Regions from separate parts of the Homo sapiens genome. Here all the other regions are linked to region 2. Evidence: promoter capture Hi-C in 16 types of primary human blood cells and fetal thymus (Javierre and others, 2016). All regions are on one chromosome and are shown on one strand. The core of a region is centred on a gene start or on the middle of the fragment in contact, and the rest is flanking DNA. Distances in the headings are between cores, read along the strand shown. Region 1 overlaps OSBPL8 (oxysterol binding protein like 8). Region 2 holds the start of GLIPR1 (GLI pathogenesis related 1). Region 3 overlaps LOC105369850 (a long non-coding RNA gene). Region 4 holds the start of E2F7 (E2F transcription factor 7). Region 5 overlaps ZDHHC17 (zDHHC palmitoyltransferase 17).

The links. The method cuts DNA at HindIII sites, captures the fragments that hold promoters and counts their contacts. A CHiCAGO score of 5 or more calls a contact.
Region 1: a fragment that was not itself captured here is called in contact with the fragment with the promoter of GLIPR1 in region 2 in 1 of 17 cell types (naive B cells); the score reaches 5.1 in naive B cells.
Region 3: a fragment that was not itself captured here is called in contact with the fragment with the promoter of GLIPR1 in region 2 in 2 of 17 cell types (M0 macrophages and monocytes); the score reaches 5.9 in M0 macrophages.
Region 4: the fragment with the promoter of E2F7 here is called in contact with the fragment with the promoter of GLIPR1 in region 2 in 1 of 17 cell types (fetal thymus); the score reaches 5.3 in fetal thymus.
Region 5: a fragment that was not itself captured here is called in contact with the fragment with the promoter of GLIPR1 in region 2 in 2 of 17 cell types (total B cells and naive B cells); the score reaches 11.7 in total B cells.

What each region holds. Positions count from the first base shown.
Region 1 is chr12:76,487,094-76,489,793 of GRCh38, reverse strand. OSBPL8 (oxysterol binding protein like 8) reads left to right here. Exons shown (of 24, transcript NM_020841.5): 2 at 2,176-2,284. The coding sequence starts at 2,243. Among named protein-coding and RNA genes, the nearest start is that of OSBPL8, 71 kb to the left of the region's middle. The HindIII fragment of the contact is 682 bases long and covers 926-1,607 here.
Region 2 is chr12:75,479,484-75,482,183 of GRCh38, reverse strand. GLIPR1 (GLI pathogenesis related 1) reads right to left here and starts at 1,429. Exons shown (of 6, transcript NM_006851.3): 1 at 1,130-1,429; 2 at 105-350. The coding sequence starts at 1,303. The HindIII fragment of the contact is 5,495 bases long and covers 1-2,700 here.
Region 3 is chr12:76,589,813-76,592,512 of GRCh38, reverse strand. All of the region lies in intron 3 of LOC105369850 (a long non-coding RNA gene), which reads right to left. Among named protein-coding and RNA genes, the nearest start is that of OSBPL8, 31 kb to the right of the region's middle. The HindIII fragment of the contact is 443 bases long and covers 1,063-1,505 here.
Region 4 is chr12:77,064,145-77,066,844 of GRCh38, reverse strand. It overlaps E2F7 (E2F transcription factor 7), which reads left to right and starts at 1,276. Exons shown (of 13, transcript NM_203394.3): 1 at 1,276-1,500; 2 at 2,210-2,302. The coding sequence starts at 2,210. RefSeq lists enhancers at 657-886, 622-1,328 and silencers at 937-1,366, 1,387-1,436. The HindIII fragment of the contact is 4,360 bases long and covers 538-2,700 here.
Region 5 is chr12:76,786,326-76,789,025 of GRCh38, reverse strand. All of the region lies in intron 1 of ZDHHC17 (zDHHC palmitoyltransferase 17), which reads right to left. Among named protein-coding and RNA genes, the nearest start is that of ZDHHC17, 24 kb to the right of the region's middle. The HindIII fragment of the contact is 5,143 bases long and covers 1-2,700 here.

The DNA of each region.
Region 1 (2,700 bases), core at 17-2,516, 1.0 Mb before region 2:
TATTTCTTAAATAATAAGACATGGAAGTTAAAATTACTCCCTGATTCATGGACTGCAGAATAGATGTTGCGTTAGAGATGAAAACAACATTAATCTTTTTGTACATCTCCACCAGAACTTTTGGGTGACCAAGTGCATTGTCAGTGAGTGGTAATATTTTGAAAGGAATATTGTTTCTTAGCAGTAGTCTCAACAGTGAGCTTAAAATTTTAGTAAACCATGCTGTAAACAGATGTGCTATCATACAGGCTTTGTTGTTTTATTTATAGTGCACAGGCAGAGTAGTTACAGCATAATTCTTGAAAGGGCCCTAGAATTTTTGGAATGGTAAATGAACATTGGCTTCAACTTCAAACCACCAGCTGCATTAGCCCCTAACAAGAGAGTCAGTTTGTCCTTTGCAGCTTTGAAGTCTGGCATTGACTTCTCCTCTCTAGATATGAAAGTCCTTAATGGCATCTTCTAATAGAAGGCTATTTCATCTATATTGAAAACCTGTTGTTTAGTGTAGCCATGTTCATCAATGATCTTAGCTAGATCTTTTGGATAACTTACTGCAGTTTCTCCAAGTAGCACTTGCTACTTCACCTTGCATTTTGATGTTATAGAGATGGCTTCTTTCCTTAAACCTCATGAACCAACCTCTGCTGGCTTGAAACTTCTCTTCTGCAGCTTTCTCACCTCTCTCAGCCTGTATAGAATTGAAGAGAGTTAGGGCCTTGCCTATATAATTAGCCTGATCTTCTATCCAGACCACTCAAACTTGCTGTATATCAGCAATAAGGCTGTTTTGCTTTCTTATTTGTGTGTTCATTGGAATAGGACTTTTAATTTCTTCCAAGAACTTTTACTTTGCATTCACAACATGGCTGTTTGGTGTAAGAGGCCATGCTTCTGGCTTTTGACATGCCTTCCTCACTAAGCTTAATCATTTTTAGCTTTTGATTTAAAGTGAAATATGTGGGTCTTCCTTTTACTTGAACACTTAGAGGCCTTTGTAGTGTTATTAATTGGACTAATTTCAATATTATTGTGACTGATGGAATAGAGAAGAGCCGGGAGAAAGAGAAAATGGGAGAATGGCAGATGGGTGGAACAGTCAAAACCTCCTACATTTATCAGTTCAGTTACTTGTTTTATATGGCTGCAGTTTGTGGTGCCCCAAAATGATTACAATAGTAATATCAAGGATTATTGATCACAGATTGCTGAACAGATACTTTAATGAAAAGGGTTGAAATATTTGAGAGTTACCAAACTATGACACAGAGACACAAAGTGAGCACATGCTGTTGGAAAAGTACCGATAGACTTACTTGCTGCAAGGCTGTCACCAACCTTCATTTTGTAAAAAAGGCAGTATCTCTTTGTGCAGTAAAGCGAAACACAATAAAACAAGGCATGCCTGTAGATATACATATTCATGGTAAAAATGGAAATATACAGAAGCAAAGAGTATCTTATATATATAAAATGTTCCATCACTCACATTTCCCACCTTATGTGTTGTGATCCTCTTTCCAGTTTAGTATATATAGATCTACTTCATTTTTTAAAATTGCTGCATGATATTCTATTGTATGTCTGTAATATAATTTAAGGAAGCTTCTAGCCATCAACATTTAAGTTGTTTCTAGTTTTTTTCATCAGATTTATTACTGTGTTGGAATTGTTTATATATTTCTGGGCATTTGTATATCTGTGGGAAAATTTCTAGTCTTGAAATTGCTGGATTAAAACATACATATTTTTAATTGTCCTTCAAAAAATTGTCCTGATTTATATTCTCATAACAAAAGTACATGAGAATATCTGTTTCCCCACATTCTCTCCCATGATGGATTTTAGCATACTTTTTAGTTTTTACCAATGTAATAATGAAAAACTAATTTATTTCATTAGTTGTAAGTAGATTTATGCATCCTTTCAAATTTTAGGCAGTCTCATGTTTAACCTTGCTCTTACTATTTTTCTTCACTTGGAATATTTTTTTCTTCTTTCATTTTTCTCTGAACCTTTACCATTCTTCAAGCCCATGTCAATTTTTTTTTTAATTATTGAATTTCCAAATAACCTCAGACTAAAATGATTTTTCCCTTCTAACAAACTCAATGCTTTATTTCTACTTGTCACAGTTTTATACCAGTCCTAATAAATATCATTTTCTTATTTTAGGATTTGCAGATTTACAGAATGGCTGCACATTAATGGAAAGAGAAGCATAAACCTATCTTCTTTCATTATGGAGGGAGGTTTGGCAGATGGAGAACCTGATCGAACTTCGGTGAGTAGTTCATATATGACATAGGTTCTATCATCTGTAACTGTGAAGTGTTTGATGTAAGCTAGGGTTTTGTTTTTAAAATATATTAACAACAAACTTTTAAAAAGTATTTTTAAAATAATGCTTTAACTCCTTGAGAATTACAGATACTTTAAATGATATGAAAATTACAGATAGCTAGCTAGGCATGGTGGCTCACACCTGTAATCCTAGAACTTTGGGAGGCCGAGATGGGTGGATTACCTGAGCTCAGGAGTTCAAGACCAGCCTGGGCAACAATGGCGAAACCCTGTCTCTATTAAAAATACAAAAATTAGCCAGGTGTGGTGGCACATGCCTGTAGTCCCAGTTACTTGGGAGGCTGAGGCACGAGAATTGCTTGAACTTGGGAGGTGGAGGTTGCAGTAAGCCAAGAT
Region 2 (2,700 bases), core at 180-2,679:
TTACAGGTATACTAGCATACTATACATTTTCTTAACTTCATAGTACAATTTTTCTCCTCATACTTGAAAAGACAGTTTCAAGATAATATAGGGCAGATCCTTACCTGAGTGTAGTGGCCACAGACTTTTTTGCATATCCGAGTCTTGAAGTCATAGTCCTGGATTTCGTCATACCAGTTTGTGATGGCGGAAGACACAGAAAAAATGGGCACAGACCCAGTCCAGATGTTCTCTCCCAGTGAAGTGAAGTTTGGGTGCAGCTTGTGGGGTGGCTTCAGCCGTGTATTATGTGAAAACTGGCAATTGCTGGCCCATGCTTTTGCAATTTGGGCTAGTGCTGGGTCCCAAGTCTGCAAAAATAAACATTAAACAATAGGGGGTTCATCTGAAATGTAACTGGGGTGAGTACAGTGGGAATTTGAATGGAAAACGAGGTGAGATAAGGAGAGAAGATACCACTGCATATGAGTCCTCTATAAATATGGTCTTCAAGCACTGAGTAGGGCTGGTAGGAAACGTGACAATTTAGTTTCATGGAATTTAGAATCTAAGTGAGGAAAACTGACATTTCACTGAAGGCTAATTGTGGGCAAAATAGTGTGTGCCGTGTTTCACAACATTATTCCATAACCACAACAGCCCATATCCTAAGAAGTTCAGAAAGGTTAAAAACCAGCTTAAAGCCACAGATCTGAAATTCAATCCCAAGCCTTACTGAATCAAAATCCCATCCTTTCCCCAGATGCCATTCTGCCTACCTGAGCAACTCAGTACTTTGTCAGCAGCAAAAAAAGTAAATTTAGAGACAAAAAAAAAAAAAAAAAAAGAAAACCAAATCACAAAAATTAACAGGGAGGAAGATAACAAAAAGAGAAGTAAAATCCACTGAAAACCAGAAAACAGGAAGTGTCCAAAGAGAAGTAAAATGTGCTGTGGCACTTGCTTATAACAACAGTTGGGTAGACAGAGCTAAACTGGATGTGTTTTGATCACAGACTGTGAATTTACTGCATACATTAATCACAATGAAAAAAAAATCATTCAGTATTACGAAGGTATTAACACCAAAGTCAATACACATTAGTTGTTTCTGACTGACTGACGCCACAATTAATGATATTTTCCTTACCATGTATAGCATATCACTGGCTGTTGGTTTCACCTCTGATCGGAACTTGTTATGGATTCGAACGCAGTCTTTGATGAAATCTTCATTTTCGATATCTGGCAAAATATTTGCTGTGTGTGAATAATTGGAGACAAAAGAAACCATCCAGGCTATTGTAGCAAGTGTGACACGCATGCTTTGTCTGGCATGGAGCCTTGGGAGGCTGCAGTCCAGAGCCGCCGCAGTTTCTGAGAGTGTGATTGCCTGAGTGCTCAGCCCACAGCTTTGCAAACCTAGCCGACTTCAGCTTTGAGAAAACAGAACAGAGCATGAGTTCATCACTAGTTTTAAGAAACGGGTTTCTCCATATATGGTGTGCAGCTCACTTTGTGTTCTTAACCCTGTCTTTTCAGTGGTTTTCAGTGACACAGCACCTATTACGACATAGATTTTTATGAGGCTGTGTCAGACTTCCTTTTGAATTGGGAGATATTTCCAAAGAAAATTCTGAAGTCTCCAGGAATAATAGTCTCCAATTTTTAATGGAGGTTGCGGTGATAAAATGAAAATATCTCTTACTTCTATAAATGCCTCGCAAAATGCTTTCAGAAATCTTTTTCTTTTTAGAGTCATATCAACACATAGTGGTTGGAATATCTGGTTAACATCATAAACTTGACCTAGAATTCATTCACGATGGTAGAAACATGTAAGCGTGTATGTGTGTGTGTGTGTGTGTGTGTGAGAGAGAGAGAGGGAGAGAAAGAGAGAGAGAGAGAAAGAGAGAGAGGGATTGAGAGGGAGAATAGTAGAAAGAATACAGGACTCAAGTTGAGAATTTAGTTTCTGTTTCTAACTAGCTGTAAGACCTTGGACAGGATACAAAACTCTCTAAACCTCAGCCACCTATTGAATGAGACTATGGGACCTTTTCTGCTTCCTTAATTACAGAGGTTTGGCAGGATCAAATGAACTAGCTAATATTAAATTCCTGCCTTGTATATTCACCTTAGTAATACAGAAATAAAAACACAGTCACTGGCCCCAAGGAGCTTACAGTGGTAAGAGCTGTGAGATGGTGATGACAAGGATGTTACAACAGGGGCTGTTGGAGATCTGGATATAGGAAAGCACAGGTAGATATGGACACACAAGAGAGCATACTTAACCCATTCTGGAAACGGCAGAGCCGGCCTACATACAGCAGGTGAGGTCTTTGCTGAGGCTAGAATCAGCTAGGTGTTGATCAAGTGAAAAAGCGCTGGAGAGGAGAAGGGAATTAGAGGGATAGGAACTATATATCTAGTTGTGAAATTGAAGACATGGTGTTATGGCAAGAATAGAGCAAGAACCTCTCCATATTGTCTCCCTCTGTAAATATGGTCTGTAAATAAGTAGTGATTCTGACTGGTAGAAAACTTGATACCTGGTGTCATGGAATTCAGAATCCAAATGATGCTTTCATGCCACTTGGGGGAGAGAAGTTAAGAGTCAGATCAGGAAGGATTTCTCAATTCTGCTAATGATTTTTTATTTTATCACCAAAGTCATGGGAAGTTATTGGAGGATTTTAGCTGTAGGTGGGGTTTAGA
Region 3 (2,700 bases), core at 35-2,534, 1.1 Mb before region 2:
CCATATGAAATATATGGTTTCTCCCCTTCCAAGGTTCCTGTATTAGTCCGTTTTCACACTGCTGATAAAGACATACCTGAGACTGGGAAGAAAAAGAGGTTTAATTGGACTTACATGGCTGGGGAGGCCTCAGAATCATGCTGAGAGGTGAAAGGTACTTCTTACATGGCGGCGGCAAGAGAAAATGAAGAAGATGCAGAAGTGGAAACCCCTGATAAAACCCCTGATAAAACCATCAGATATCGTGAGACTTATTTGCTACCATGAGAACAGTATGGGGGAACCTCCCCCATAATTCAAATTATCTCCCACCAGGGCCCCTCCCACAACCCATGGGAATTGTGGGAGTACAATTCAAGATGAGATTTGGGTGGGGACACAGAGACAAACCATATCAGTTCCCAAGAGTTTCATTCATTATAGCATCAGCTCAAATTCTAAAATTTCATCATGTGAATCAAGTCCAGGTGCAGATGAGCCTCCTACGTATAACCTGTTAAGTAAAGCTCCTGGACACAATTATTCTCTAACTATGGACCTCTGAAACCAAGGAAATGAGTTATCTGCCTCCAACACACCCAACATACAATGGTGGGACAGACACAGGATAATAGCTATAGACATTCCAGTTTAAAAATAGGGGAAATGGGTAGTAAAAAGGAGTCACTAGTCTATAGCAGTTTTGAAATACAACTGGATTTATTGGAAGTTCCTTAATTAAGTTTCTAGGCTTGGGAATGATTCTTCATGGCTCTTGGCTCTGCTTTCTGGGTTCTTGGTTCCACCATCTGAGTCATTCTTCCTTTTTCATGGAAGGTAGCATGTGTTTGCAGATGAGTAGTTTTATCAGCCTGCTTTCTGCCAGTAAAATTTTGGAGGTCTGACAGCCTCTTTTCATTTTCTAGTCTTTCTGTCTGTCTTATTCCAAGTTGGCACTGTTTCTGCAGAAATAATTTTCTCAAGAATGTTGTGGTTCTTTCTGTATTTCAGTGGCATTCACTCTTATCAGACAAAGGCCACATCTACAGATTGTTTCAAAAATAATTCCATCTCCTTTAAGCTTCCTAGAGGCTCAATAGTGTGATTGAGAGGATCTGAGGCATACCCTTAGATCTTTTCAAATCTAAGGGCCGTATCTTGAAATACCCCTGAGTACTCTGACCTTTGATCTTTTGGGGGCTTTAAAAAAGATTATAGAGTAACTTCAAGTGCATTTTCTCTAGAGTAGGCTTTTCTGACAGTGCCCAAAAGCCATCTCCAACTGTTAATATTTTTTGCCATCTGGGGAAGATGAGGATTTTTTAAATTATCAAGTCCTGATTCCTTTTTGCTTAATAGTTCTTCTCTCAATTTGTCTCTTTTCTTGAATTTTCCTGTAAGTAGCAAGAAGAAACCAGTTGTCCCCTTCAACACTTTGCTTGGAAATCTCCTTAACTATATAACCAAATTCATCCATTTACAAGTTCTGCTTTCAACGTAATTGCAAGAAATAATTTCACTAAGCTTTACGCCAGTACATAACAAGGATCTCCCTTCTTCCAGTTTCCTATAGCATGTTCCTTACTTCCTTCTGAGTCCTCAACAGCAGTCTTCAATATCCACATTTCTACTGAGAGTTTGTTCGCAGTGATTTGGGATTTGTCTATCATACTTTTCAAGCATTCTTCTAGTCTCTGTCCACTGATCAGTTTCAAAGCCACAGACATATTTTTACATATTTATTACAGTAGCATTCTACCTCTAGGCACCAAAATCTCTATTAGTTTTCCAATTCGATGTAACAAATTAACACAAGTTGAACACATTAAAATAACACACATTTACTATCTCTCTTTCTGTAGGTCAGGAGTCCAGATACACCTTAGTTGGGTTTTCTACTTTGGGGTCTCTCCAGGCTACAGTGAAGGTGTTGGTTGGACCATGTTCCCATCTGAAAGCCTGAAGAAAGAAGAATCTTCTTCCAAACTCTCTCAAGTTGTTGGGAGAATTCATTTCCTTACAGTCACAGGACTGAGAGCTTCAAGATTTTGTTTTGTTTTGTTTCTGTTGGCTCTCAGCTTCTACAAGCCACCTCTGAGTTCTTTGCCACATGGTCCTCTCCGATAGGCAGTTCATAACATGACAACTTGTTTCTTCAAGACCAGCAGGAAAGTGAGAGAGTGAGTCGGCTATCAAGACAGATTCTTACATAATATAACATAATCATGGGAGTGATATCCCATCACATTTGTCATATATTGTAATGCATGTATTACATTACATCATGGGAGTAACATCCTATCACCTTTGCCTTATTCTTCTGGCTGGAAGCAGTTCACAAGTTCTACCCAGTCTTACGGTGAGGGGCATAAAGAAGGTCATTAATACCAGAAGGCAGAGATCATTGGGGGTTACCTTAGGATATGTCTGCCACATTGGGGGAAGGCAGACAATTCTAGGTAGCTATTCAAAGATCCAGAGAAATGAGCCTGAGTTACCTACAACAATGTTCAGATTGATTAATGTATTCTTGAGTTAGCTTTCCTTCCTTTCATGTCTTAATTTTCCTAGCCCCTCACTCCTATTCACTGGGATCTCTTCCCAAAATCAACTATCCGCACAGAAGTTATTGTCTCAGACTCCGATTTCAGGGAAGAAGCCAGGCTAAGATAGCAGAAGAGAATAAACTTGTATAAATGGTATGCTACAAGTTAGGAGGGA
Region 4 (2,700 bases), core at 27-2,526, 1.6 Mb before region 2:
GCTGTCTCACATTTCAGTTGAGGGATATCTTACAAAATACTTGACCAATACTACTCAAAAATGTCCAGGTATCAAAAATGAGGAAAGTATGAGAAACTGTCATAGCCAAGAGGAGCCTAGAGACATAGGAACTAAAGGTAATGTGGTATCCTGAACAGAAAAAAGGGCCATTAGGAAAAAATTAAGTAAATCTGAATAAAGTAATGACTTGAGCTCAGAAGAATGTACCAATATTAGATCATTAATTTCAAAAAATATTCTATACTAACACAAAATGTTAATAGTGGGTGAAATTGGGTGCTGAATATATGGGAATTCTTGGTACTATCTCAATTTTTCTGTAAATTGAAAACTTCTAAACAATAAAGTCTGTTTTGTAAAAAGTCCATCTCTACCAACATTCATATTTTAAACAAGAAACTGTAGGATGAAAGAAGTGAAACATTTAATACAGATCAGTGGTGTTGAGGAAATTTTCTAGACTGTCTCCCAGAATGCTAGTCCCTATTGCAAAGAACTACTTTTTTATATAAAGCTTTTTCCCTCCTAATTATTTGCAATTTGCCGAAAAGGGAACACCAAAAAACATTTCCGGATTTGCCACACACACAAAACAAACAAACAAAAAAAAGTTAGAAAAACTTCTGGTTTGGCTTCCAGTCTTGTCTCCAGGGCTAACTGGCGTGCCATCTGCTCGCAGCAGAGCGGTAACCATGGTTCATGTGTCACACCAGCGTGCGATGTTAAGAAGTTTGCCCCGGCAAGTCTGGACAACTCCGCTTCCGCACAGGTTGCTGAGGGCGGGCGGGGATGGCGGCAGCAGCATCCAGAGGGTGTAGATCGTTCTTCCAAACCCCATCTGCTTTCCTGTCCTCTGGCTGTGCCCGGGGTCCCCGGGCGCGGCAAGCCGCGGGGACGTGCGCGGGTCTTCTATGCATAACAAAAGAGCCCTCCTCCTCCTCTTCCTTCTCCCGCCGCCCCGCGCCGCCCCGCGCCGCCCCCACCTTGGCTTCCCGCGGCCGCCGGGGCCCGCGTCCCCAGCAGGAATTGGCTCCCGGGCCCGAGGTTTCCAGGTACCCGGAAGGGGGAGGGGGCCGAGGCGGCAACAATTGGGCGGGTGAGGGCAAAACGCGCGGCTCGGAGCGCCAAGACTCCGAGGGGCGGTGAGCCCGGGCCGTGCCGCCGCACGATTGGCCGGGGCCGCCCCGCCGGCCGCCGCTGATTGGTGGATTCTCAAATTCGGTCTCAAGGCGCCAGAGGAGGTGTTTTAGCGGGGACTACGATCCAGGCTGGAGTTGCGCTCGGCCGGTCTGAGCGCTGGCGCTGCCCGGACGCCGCGGGGTCCCCGCCAGCCCAGGGCACTCGGCGCGGGGATCTGCGCGCCTCGCTCTCCCTTCCCGATGCCGCCGCCCGGCTGCTGATCGCCGCACCACCTTCCCTCATCGGCTTGGGTCCGTGGAGGTCCCTGCAGAGGCAGGAAGCCTCCTTAGGAAAGCAGGGGTAAGCGTGCGGCCCCAGCGCCAGTGGGGAGGCGGGAATTGGGATACAGGGCCCACTCCCGCCCCGGCTGCCAGCCTGCCACTCCTCACGTCCCCCGGCTGGCGAGGGCTCGAGGTGTTTCTGCCGGGGAACCCGGTGCGCAGAGGGTGTGCCGGGTGCAGCTCTCACTCCGGCCCGGCAGTAGAGGGGATTTGCCCTTCCCCACAACTTGGAGCTTTCATTGGAGAAGTTTATTTGGGGGATCTGCTTGGAGGCCTGGGAAGGGGCTGCGCTCAGCGCTGAGTGGGTTTGGTCTAGCGATCGGGTTTCCTTCCCCCGATTCAAAACCCCTCAAAGCCGAATTCCTCTCAGTTCTTTGCGCCAAAATTAACTGACCTGGGAGACCCTGTACTTTTCTGACAGATTTGCCCAACACCCTTCCGACTTGGTAACTTTATTTTGCCATCTAGCTTTTCATAAGGAGTTACTATTTTTGTAGATTTTTTTCTTCCCAGATTTTCAGTATTACTAAGCACACTTTAGGTGTTTGAGTTTGTTCGCGTGAGTTTTAGAAAGTTGAGGGTGGCTACAACTCCTGGAAATGCCCAGGATGTGCTTAGAGAAGGGGGAATTTCATATTGACAAACAAGTAACACATATGTAGATATTTTTGTTTGAGGAAAAAATACCTAATTGCAAAATCATTTTCTAGTGTAATTGTGCATTACAGATGGAGGTAAATTGTTTAACACTAAAAGACCTGATCAGCCCCAGGCAGCCCAGACTAGATTTTGCAGTTGAAGATGGGGAAAATGCACAAAAGGTAAGCAAACATAAACACCTTAGTTTCTAATATGTTAAGGATGGTGATGTTGAATTCAATTAAGTGTTCCAACATGCCATTTGTATTTGTATTTAAGCATAATAATTAATATTGATAAACATTATAGAAACATTCTTTTTTAAAAATAGAGCCATCCAAACCATTATTGTTGGAATTCTACTCTCAGATATAGTGGGAAAAATAGGCAAGGTTACATGTAATGTTGTAACCAATTTATATAAGTCAAAAATATGCTGGCTACAGCAATCAAAGTTTATAATACAGTTGTCAAGGGTGGTGTAGCTAGTGCTCTGTAGGAATGCTAAGCCTCAGTTCCCAGGAAAATAGACCTTTGCAGGCATAAATGCTGGATTATTAAAGTGCTGTGAAATGTCTTC
Region 5 (2,700 bases), core at 199-2,698, 1.3 Mb before region 2:
TCTCCACTATTTAAAGAGTAAGAAAGACTTGCTGGGCACGGTGGCTCATGCCTATAATCCCAGCACTTTGGGAGGCCAAGGCAGGCGGATCACCTGAGGTCGGGAGCTTGAGACCAGCCTGACCAACATGGAGAAAACCCCGTCTCTACTAAAAATACAAAATTAGCTGGGCGTGGTGGTGCATGTCTGTAATCCCAGCCACTCGACAGGCTGAGGCAGGAGAATCGCTTGAACCCGGGAGGCAGAGGTTGCAGTGAACAGAGATCATGCCACTGCACTCCAGCCTGGACAACAAGAGCGAAACTCTGCTCAAAAAAAAAAAAAAAAAAAAAAAAAATTGCGATTCCAACTTAAATATATTTTCCTATCCTAGTTCATCTTTTGGGAATTACCTGTTCATATCTTTTGGTCATTTTATTGTACTTGACTCCTGAAATCTGCTTAATATATTTGTATTACACTTTTATATATAGATTAATCTTTTTCATACTGATCTAAAGACTTCCATGTTTAGAACTGTTCATTTATGCTTTCAATATAATTCAGAGATTATACCCTTTATAGTCACATGTATTAATCTTTTCCTTGTGCTTTTTTGGTTTTCATTTTTATATTTCAATACTGCTACAATTATTAGTGCTATTCATGAAATATTTTCAGTTCTCTTCTCAGGTACAAAGTTGAACTGTACACCCTTGGCCCTTTGAAAGATAAGTGTGTCCAAGTGATTGACCATGTGATCTTAACCAATGGAATATGAATAAAAAGGATCTGTTGCTTTCAGAGAACAAGTTTAAGAGCCAACATGCAATTCCCCAGTCTCTCTTTCCATCTGCCAAGGAGACTGGCAATCTTCTAGAGAGTAGAGATAATCACTGGATAGAAAACCTACTATCCCACCCACAATGTATGTGTAGCATAACTACTAACATTTTTTTAAGGGACAGGGTCTCACTATGTTGCCCAGGCTAGAGTACAGTGGCTATGCACAGACGTGATCATCACCACTACAGCCTGGAACTCCTGGGCTCAAGCAATCCTCCTGTCTCAGCCTCCTGAGTAGTTGGTAGTACAGGTGCACACAACCACACTCAGCTAAGCCACTGAAATTTAGGGTTGTTACTGCAGCAAAACATAGCTTATCCGGACTAATATGATTCTGAGAGTTGTTTAGTTTGGTAAGTAGTGTGTAAATGGATCTATATAAATCATTTTCATTGTATTTTGGAGCTGGTTATAACTAGTATATGGTTTTACTACTAATGTTCACAGATTTATCTTATATCCAGCCACAATGTTAAAATATCATCTCTGATTTTAGATACCTTTGAATACTGTAAGAATACCATCAACTCTCCTGCGCGCGCACACACACACAAGAGACAGAGAGAGAGAGAGAGAGAGAGAGGGAGAGACAGAGTGTGTGTTTTCACTCTATGGCCGATGGCATTGGCAAAAACATCAAATGCAATATTGGAAAAGTAAAATGAGAATACTTCCTTATTTCCTATTATTTTTCCTCCATTTTTTAATAGTCAATGTATTTAGTGTTTCTTCATCATAAAGCTGTTCAATCATCCTTATTCAAATATATTCCAGGGAATGCATAACACTGTATATGGATAAAAATGCCCACTTGATTGGGCATAAAAATGCCAACAGGCTGTTACATTATAGAATATGGCCAATTTAATATTTCATTGGAGATTCTCGATTTCATCCTGTAAAGATTATGACCAGTATTATTTTTATGTATCTCCTAGTTGATGATAATATTATGAAAGTGACCTTCACTCTTCCCCTTGACCTCCCTTCTCTACCACAGGCCAACTGTTCTTATCAGCAGCCCACACTCAAGTCGTGGTGACATTTCCATTAGGGCCCAAAAAACTAGGGCAGACATAAAACGACTCTGGAAAATTTCAAGGAAGAAGTACCTTCAAGTATTTTAAGTTGTTTTATTTTGGTTTTTTAAATGTTTGCATCAAGTGCACATGTAAATTATCTAAATGTAATTACCAAAATGTAATTTGAATGGCAAAGATACGTAACTGAAAATCCTAAGAAGTATTGTAAACTATCTCTTAGGAGAAGTGCAAAAACCCCATCTTCGACTGAGAATAAGTAAAGACATTTAGGCATCTAGTTCAGCAGGCAACGGAGATCAATCAGGGAGTTTTGAGGAAGGAAGTAACAGAATTAGATATGCAATTTTAGAAGATCATCTAAAGATTTTTTTTTCCTTTCCACCATCCCCAAAATTTATACTTCCACCTTTCCTGTGCTATTTACTAGAAGGCATTTCTAACTATCAAAATGTCCAAGCTAGAAAAATTCAGCTGGGTGCAGTGGTGCATACCTATAATCCCCACAACTCATGAGGCTGATGGGGAAGGACCACATGCGGCCAGGAGTTTGAGACCAGCCTGAGGAACATAGTGAGACTGTCTCTAAAAATAAAAATTAAAAAGGCCAGGCACAGTGACTCATGCCTGTAATCCCAGCACTTTGGGAGGCCGAGGCGGGTGGACTGCTTGAGTTCAGGAGTTCAAGACCAGTGTGACCAACATGGTAAAACCCCATCTCTACTAAAATACAAAAATTAGCCAGGCATGGTGGCAGGTGCCTGCCATCCCAGCTACTCAGGGGGCTGAGGCAGGAGATTCACTTCAACCCAGATCGTGCCACTGCACTACAGCC